Linked DNA regions of Homo sapiens: region 2 is linked to region 1. The links are contacts of gene promoters, found by promoter capture Hi-C in human tissues and cell types (Jung and others, 2019). All regions are on one chromosome and are shown on one strand. The core of a region is centred on a gene start or on the middle of the fragment in contact, and the rest is flanking DNA. Distances in the headings are between cores, read along the strand shown. Region 1 holds the start of SLN (sarcolipin). Region 2 overlaps ALKBH8 (alkB homolog 8, tRNA methyltransferase).

Region 1 (4,101 bases), core at 777-3,276:
TAATCTGAGATGTACAAAATAAATGCTTATCCCATAAACCTAATATCAACACATGATATACTACAAATAATTTGATTCCAAATGAATTAAGAAAAAAGGTTTTCAAGTTTCAGATTCTTTTACCAAAAATATCCTGGGAATTTGAGATTGTGCCTATGCAGCCTCAAACGGATGAATAAAAAGTAATGTAGGCCGGGCACCCGGTGGCTCACACCTATAATCCTAGCACTTTGGGAGGCTGAGGCGGTTGGATCACCTGAGGTCAGAAGCTCAAGGCCAGCCTGGCCAACATGGTGAAGCCCCATCTCTACTAAAAATACAAAAATTAGCCAGGCATAGTGGTGCATGCCTGTAATCCCAGCTACCCAGGAGGCTGAGGCAGGAGAATCGCTCGAACCCGGGAGGCGGAGGTTGCAGTGAGCTGAGATCACGCCACTGCACTCCAGCCTGGGTGACAAGAGCAAAACTCCATCTCAAAAGAAAAAAAAAGTAAAGTAAAGTTTTGTTTTTTTCCCCTTTGGGTGGTGAGATTAAAAGTAATTTAAAAGTTTTAAATACTTTAATATATTTTCACATGTCCTACAATAAATATATAACTTTTTTAATTTGACAAAAAATAATTTTGAGTGGTTACAAAAAGGGACAGGTGTGGCTTGGTAACTAGAAAAACATTCCCAGCCTGGGAAACAATCTAGTGAGAGCTTGGAGGCAGAAGACAGAACTCTGATTACATTCAAGGAGTTTGCCAGATGGCAACAGATAACTGCCAATGTTCGGTTGCACTATAATTATTATACACTCTCTGTCACTTCAGCAAGCGCTCTTTTCACAAGACAAGTGGTGACAGAATGTTGTATTAAGATTACCCGTTGCTAAGCTTATGTTAAAATGAGGAAATGAAATGGAAAGTCTTGTTTTGGTAATGTCTCTGGGGTATGAGGAATGGAGGGAAAGGTTTGACTATGAGCATAACTGCATAGAGAATTTTGTTTGTTTATGCCTTTTGGGAATGCATTATTTTGATTGACCCTAATTGGGAATTCAGAGGGGGAGATTTCCTCTATTATCTATAAAGAAAGGATCTGCTGAGCAAACACAATTGCTAGGGTCATGTTTAAAGTACTTAATTGATCTGCTTTCAAGTCTAATTTAACACTTCAGGGGCTCCAAACATGTGATACATTGGTTACAAACTCATCTTAGTCTAATTTTAGTTAGTGTTCATATTAGAAAGTTATATAATACTTTTCTTTCTTTCAGATATATTCTATAATTCACATTTTTCACTAATTTTACCCAGTTCTCCTTCCACTCCCAATCTATCCAAATAACTGAGTTGAACTGTGTGAGTTTACTGCTCTATTAATTTATTGCCAGAGATATACAAACCATGACTTCCTCGGCTGTTTCAGATGAAACTGTAGATCCACGTGTAAACTTGCAATGCACAGCTTAGCTGGAAAGTTACGTGGAGCAGGTGACGGAGGGGATAGCTTTCACTGCTTGGACTAAAGTCAGTTTTGAAAGAGCTAAAGATGCCTATTGAATTCTGGAGTGTGTGTGTGTGTGTATGGGTGTGCATATGTGTGGGTGTAAGGCAGCAAACTCTTCACATTTCAAATAACTAAAGATATGGGTGGTAAAATGAAGTCACATTTTTACACCTCACAGGCTGACTAGGGAGAGCAGTCAAATGCAGCATCGATTGGTTAAAATTAGTCTATCATTCTTGGTTTATGATGTTTTAAAGACATGTTAAAGTTATTCATGAAGATGTAAAAGACACATTTAAAACCCACATCAATTGCACTAAAAGTCAACTGGAAACAGAAGGTTTTTAAATCCTGGTGGTGGCAAATTGGCAGCCAAAGGAACAAAGTCTTAGTCAACATATTTCCATGTCCCCCGAACACAAATAGCCTCGAACCTTCGGAGGGTGTTCCTTTGAGATGTTTCATCAGTGACATCACAGTGATTGCCAGCTTCCACGGACTACTTTAGGCGCTGCCCAGAGTCCAGGAGTCCAGACAGCCTGGGAGGGGAGAAGGAGTTGGAGCTCAAGTTGGAGACAGCGAGGAGAAACCTGCCATAGCCAGGGTGTGTCTTTGATCCTCTTCAGGTAACTGCAGGATTTTTATGCTTAGCATACGGTGTGTGTGTGTGTACAAGCTGCAAATGAGAAAGGCAGAGGAATGTTTGCATTTCTTAATGAAATAGGCAATGCCCCTTGGATACAGCATGCCTTAAGATATAAAGTGAGTACTATTGCTTTCTGTTTTCCTTTTTTTTTCTCCTAAGGGTATGCATTTTCTCCCTTCCTAGTAAAAAAAAATTTTTTTTCTTTCTTGTATTATGGAAGATGGTCTTTTTTCTATCTTCTCTAAGTCTCCATTCAAAGAAAGCCAATGTCAAACTTCCTGCACAATTTATTCAGAGCTTTTTGGGTTTTAGTTCATCCATTTGCAATCACTGGATCATATGGCATGACCTTGACTTCAGGGAATGTTTAAAATGAAACCCAAAGTGTCTTTATTGGTTAAAAGCAGAAAAATGGAACTTGGCTGATCTGAATTTCTGCCTAACTGGTTCATTCTTCCTAAAGTGTATAAATGTGTGTGAAAGGAATGTTCACACCACACCTTACAGTTAGCATATGTGTTGATTGAATTGAATTCACTAGAAATTCTCACCTTAACTCTTCATGTTTTATTCATCTAAAATCACATAAAACAACAAATATTCAAGGTCACCATTAAAGTGCAAGAAGTAGTAAGAGGTAAATCCCAAGAAAGAAAGAAGTGTGATGGGTAGCCTGCTAATTCAGAAATGACTGAAAAAAAAAAAGTTAAGAGTGCATAAACATACACAGTTTAAACAATAACTGAAAGGCAACACTTCTATAATTATCATCCAGGTCAAGAAACAGATCATTGCCAGCACCCAGAAGCCCATTCTTGATCAACCCCCATTCTGCCCCAAGATGTTGGGATCCTCTTGTCCCTGTTATTCTTTATAATTTGACCATCTATGTCTGCATGCCTAAACAATATGATTAACCTCCCTATTTTTGACATCATATAAATGGAGTCATATTCTCTGTTTCTTTTGTAAATTCTTCTTTCACCCAACAATTATATTTGTGAGATCTACCCATTTTCTGTGTAGCTATAGTTCATATATTTTCTTTGCTTTATGAAATTCAAATGTATAACTATACCACAATTTATCATCCATTCTGCTGTTGATAAACATTTGAGTTGTTTCCAGTTTGGAGTTATTGTGATAATATTGCTGTGAACTCTTTATTTATGTAACCTGGCACGCACGTCCTTGACTGTCTTAAGGTAGAAGTGAAATGCCAGATATTAGAGAATGAACATTTTCAACATTAATTCTAAGAAAGCTAAATTGTTTTCCAAAGTGGTTGAAAATTTATGCTAACTTTGTTTAGCCAGGCCAGTTAATTGCAGTGACAATTCACTTGTGTCATAACTCCTAGGAATTCTAGTAACTAGTTCCAGTCTGCTAATTCTAGCTTTGCCTCTAACTTGTTATCTGTCATTACACAAACATCTTAATCTCCTCTCTCTAAAAGTCAGTTTCTCAGCTGTAATCTTGAGAAAGATAAAAACTGCAGTAACACTTGCCTGAGTTGTTGCGAAGGTAACACAAACAGAGCTGTGGAACAGCTTTCAATAGTATTTTTCTCATTTTCTGAGTATATCCTGTTGGATCACTATCCATGATTCCCATGACTTAACAGCTTAATTTAATAGGCAGATTTGGTGGGACCGTTGTTTTGCTCTCCTTGAATTGTTTTGACCATTATAAGCCAGGCTTCATATTTTCTGCTTATCTCTGCATTTCTTGAGAACTTACCCAAATAGATGGACATTTGGACTATGGTTTTATTTCATTGATAAGTTTATAAGAAAGAGTCTGTCTTCGTTTCTCATTCCTTTGCCTCCAGGCACCTTGGCAAGACTCATTACCGTTCTGTTCTCCTCTGCTCTTTTGTACATTCTCATAAATCCTTTTTCCTTGATCCATTCATTTTATTCTGTTTACTTTCTCCTCCATGCAAATCTTTGTAAAGATTTT
Region 2 (4,517 bases), core at 1,551-4,050, 180 kb after region 1:
AAAACAAAAAGAATAATTGGAAAAAGCTCCTGTGGAGCAAAATTTTCACATAACAGAATGATTCAGCAGTTTCAGGGGAACTTTATTGATTGAATATTTTTTTAAAGTCTTTTTATTTTGTGGTCTTTTAACAAGCATTTAGTTAAAGTACAGATAGTTTAAATATGATGATACTGAAAATACTTTATTTTGATGATGGAATGTTGTAGGAAAAATGTAATTTTCATAGGAAGTCTACATTTAATTTTATAAGTAAAATTATATCTAAATTTAAAAAAATATACTGTCAAATTATATGCCAAAATAAGTTTCAGAGATATAAAGGATAAAATGTGTAAAAAAAAACAGAAAATCTGTAATAAAATAGGAGCGAATATTTATCTGATCAAGATGGGGGCTTTGTAAGCATATGAAGAAATTGTGTTTTTGTGTCTTGTAGTCATAAAATAGATTGACAACATTAAAAAAAAATTCAGAACTTCCAAGGCCGGCTATCTAAATTGTGGGGCCCAATTCCAAATGAAAGTATAGACTCCTTATTCAAAACATAGGAAAATGGACCAGAAAGGCACTAAAGTATAAAGCTTTTCCTTCTGTGGTCTTTCTCATCTTGTCAAAGTGGTTTTTATTTTCTATTTAGTGCCATCAGTGTAAAGAAATCTAAATTTTGATTTATTGGCATGAATTTTACCATTTGTCTTCATATTGTGTGACACTAGTTTTAAATGCAAATGTAAGAACATGTAACTCATATGGAATCACCAAATTTTTTTTTTTTTTTGTCTTCAACTTTTATTTTAAGTTCAGGGGTACATGTGCAGGTTTGTTACATAGATAAACATGTTCCATGGTGGTTTGCTGCACAGATCATCCCATCACCTAGGTATTAAGCCCAGCATCTATTAGCTATTCTTCCTGATGCTCTCCCTTCCCCCACCACCCCCTCCAACAGGCCCCAGTGTGTGATGTTCCCCCTCAATGTGTCCATGTGTTCTCATCATTCAGGTACCACTTATAAGTGAGAACATGTGGTATTTGGTTTTCTGTTCCTGTGCTAGTTTGCTGAAGATAGTGGCTTCCAACTCCATCTGTGTCCCTGCAAAGGACATGATCTCATTCCTTTTTATGGCTGCATAGTATTCCATGGTGTATATGTACCACATGTTCTTGTTCTAGTCTATCATTGATGGGCATTTACATTGATTCCATGTCTTTGCTATTGGGAATCACCAAACTTAAACAATTTGTATTTTGTACTTGTACATTCATTTGTGATCATTTTTACCAGAATAGTGGAAACACTGCACAAAACTAACCCAACAATAACCATTTTTGTTTCACTTCTTGATTTGTGCACCTTCTGCTAACATTGTCTGTCTTCTAGAAGGACTGGAAGGAAATGGAATTATGAATTTTCAGGAGTCTGGCTCCAGGCTGAAACCCTATGTGATTTTTCAGGCCTCACCATAGGTGATGACAAAGGCTTTACCTGGTGGCCTCATGGGGGAAAAAGCTGCCCTCCTCATAGTAGACTTGATGCACAGCCAGTGCATTACAGTCTAAGTGGAGTTGTAATGAAGGGGTCAAACGTCCCTGGCTGGTTATGCTCTTATGCCTATTTGCATTCCTAGCCTAGACACCTTCATTCCTCGAACTCTTTATCTGAGGTCTTTGGCTGACGTCCTCTTCAGGCACCTCTGCCGAGGCCTTTTTGTGGAGGAGGGAGTTGGAAACCTCAAAGACATTTTCCTTACTCTGACTTGGTACTAGCTACTTTTCAATTCCTAGTCTTTCCCACTCACCCTTCCCCTTACCGCTGAGTTTATAACACTGCTGGAACCTTTCATTCAGGGTTCCCTCAGCAGTGAGACAATCCCCACATTCAAGATGATCCACCTCAACCTCAAGTCATGCAGTGTTCAGTGGAGAAAAATGGGACTGGGGGGAGTTGGTGCTTCCTCTGGTTTTAGACCTTTGTTTATGCTATTATATCACAATAAGTGATCAACTTTCATTTTTGGCTTATTGCATTAATCCACTACTCTGAGCTCTTTCTTTCAGCCTTCAGGTTGTCCTGTCATTCCGTATTCTTCTACATCATCATTTTCACTGTTAAGCAGTTGGCTAACACAGGGAAGTAACATGAATAAGAAAGGATATGATGGTGGGGTTCCTTGTGTTACTTTAGACAAGTTAAATTTAATTGAGTTTAATTATGCAATGAATGATTGATAAATCAGGCAATGCCCTGAACCAGAATAGGTTCAGAGAGACTCCAGTGCTGCCGAGTGGTTGGAGAGAATTTATGGACAGAAAAAGTAAAGTGACATATAGAAAACAGAAGTGAGGTACAGAAACACCTGGATTAGTTACAGCTTGGCGTTTGCCTTATGTGGACATGGTTTGAACAGATGGCCACCTTTATTGTGTGAAACTCAGTGATTGGTAAAATAGTAGGTAGCAGTCTGTTTAGACATCCAGTTAGATTACAGTTCACTATGTATGAAGAACCTTTAGGCTGAACTTATAAGGAGGCAACTAACTTTAGGCTAAATTTAATTTAACACTTGATTGCTTGTGTTTCTTAGAACACCATTGTCTTCTTTCTACATTTGAAGCAAGTTCTGGAGGACCCTCTAGGCTGTCAGTGTACCCTCACTCACTCAGTGGTAGACATAAAGTGCTTACTGTGTACTCTGAGTCTCGGTGAACTCTCACACTTTCTGTGTTCATGGGACATTGTGGACACATTACCCAAATGGGCCTCAAGGAACTGTGGACAAGCATATTGCGTGCATCTCCTTGCTTAAGCCCATACTCCATTGTTACATCAGACTTCATTTAACACAAGTTCAAAGATAAAGTTAAGAATTTCAATCAGTGAGAAAAAAACAAACAATCATATCAAAAAATGGGCTAAGGACATGAATAGACAATTCTTAAAAGACAATATACAAGTGGACAACAAGCATGTGAAAAAATGTTCAACATCACTAATTATCAGGGAAATGCAAATCAAAACCACAATGCAATGCCACCTTACTCCTGGGAGAATGACCATAATAAAAAAATTTAAAAAATAAAAGATGTTAGCAGGGATGTGGTAAAAAAGGGAACACTTTTACACTATTGGTCAGAATGTAAAGTAGTACAACCACTTTGGAAAACAATGTGGAGATTCCTTGAAGAACTAAAAGTAGATCTGCCATTTGATCCAGCAGACCCACTCCCAGGTATCTACCCAGAGGAAAAGAAGTTATTGTACAAAAAAGATAATTGCACACACGCTTATAGCAGCACCATTTGCAATTTGCAAAAATATGGAACCAGCCCAAATGCCCATCAATCAACGAGTGGATAAAGAAAATGTGGTATATATAGACAATGGAATACTACTCAGCCATAAAAAGGAACAAAATAATGACATTCGCAGCAACCTGGATGGAACTGGAGACTATTATTCTAAGTGAAATAACTCAGGAATGGAAAACCAAACATTGTATGTTCTCACTCATAAGTGGGAGCTAAGCTATGAGGATGCAAAGGCATAAGAATGATACATTGGACTTTGGGGACTTTGGGGAAAAGTTGCGGGGGTGAGGGGTAAAGGACTACACATTGGGTACAGTGTACACTGCTCGGGTGATGGGTGCACCAAAAATCTCAGAAATCACCACTAAAGAACTTATCCATATAACCAAACACCACCTGTTCCCCAAAAACCTATTGAGAAAAAAAAAAAAGATGAGGAATGGTCAATTTGATACAGAAAAAGAAAAACATTTAGCTTATTTGGTTGTATATTTTTCCTCCTTGAAACTTGGCTTGTATATGCCAGGACAGGTGTTTCAAAATTAACTAATATCATGTTCATATATCTCTTGTGAGTTCTAATCACTTGTTTAAGCTGAAATTTTCCTATTTGAAAATCACTACTGTCCGTTGATGGGAGGGAATAAGTTTGAATTTCACAAATACGTATGTATTGTGCCTTTGTAAAACATGTTCAATATTAGCCAAAAAGTGTAACTTCTAGGTGGATATAGAGCTTGTCTCTCTTCACTCTTGTAGCCTTTGATATCTCACCAAACGATTAATAAAATTTGTCTAACAAATTAGAGTCTAGTCTTCTAGAATATTTTCCCATCATGACAGTTTTCATCTGGATATCTGGGCATGGATTTCCTTTAAGCCACAGATAATTGTCTCTAATAATAAATATGCTCATTATTCTTTCGAGGTGTGGGCCTTGGCTTCTATTAACAAAACTGAAACCTATATAAATTGGTTTAAAAAGAGGCCACTGTGGTTTTCCCATTTCCCCCCAACAATTTATTATGAATTTATTTATTTATTTATTTATTTTTTGGTGAGACGGTGTCTCGCTCTGTTTCCCAGGCTGGAGTGTAGTGGCGTGAACTCAGCTCCCTGCAACCTCCGCCTCCTGGGTTCAAGTAATTCCCCTGCCTCAGCCTCCTGAGTAGCTGAGATTACAGGTGCCCACCACTATGCCCGGC

The links. The method cuts DNA at HindIII sites, captures the fragments that hold promoters and counts their contacts. A contact is called where the count stands out against the background at its distance.
Region 2: a contact is called between a fragment that was not itself captured here and the fragment with the promoter of SLN in region 1, in 1 of the 25 tissues and cell types used here (IMR-90 fibroblasts).

What each region holds. Positions count from the first base shown.
Region 1 is chr11:107,709,981-107,714,081 of GRCh38, reverse strand. It overlaps SLN (sarcolipin), which reads left to right and starts at 2,026. Exons shown (of 2, transcript NM_003063.3): 1 at 2,026-2,119. The HindIII fragment of the contact is 6,706 bases long and covers 1-4,101 here.
Region 2 is chr11:107,533,984-107,538,500 of GRCh38, reverse strand. The region is part of intron 7 of ALKBH8 (alkB homolog 8, tRNA methyltransferase); the gene reads left to right. Among named protein-coding and RNA genes, the nearest start is that of ALKBH8, 29 kb to the left of the region's middle. The HindIII fragment of the contact is 5,066 bases long and covers 268-4,517 here.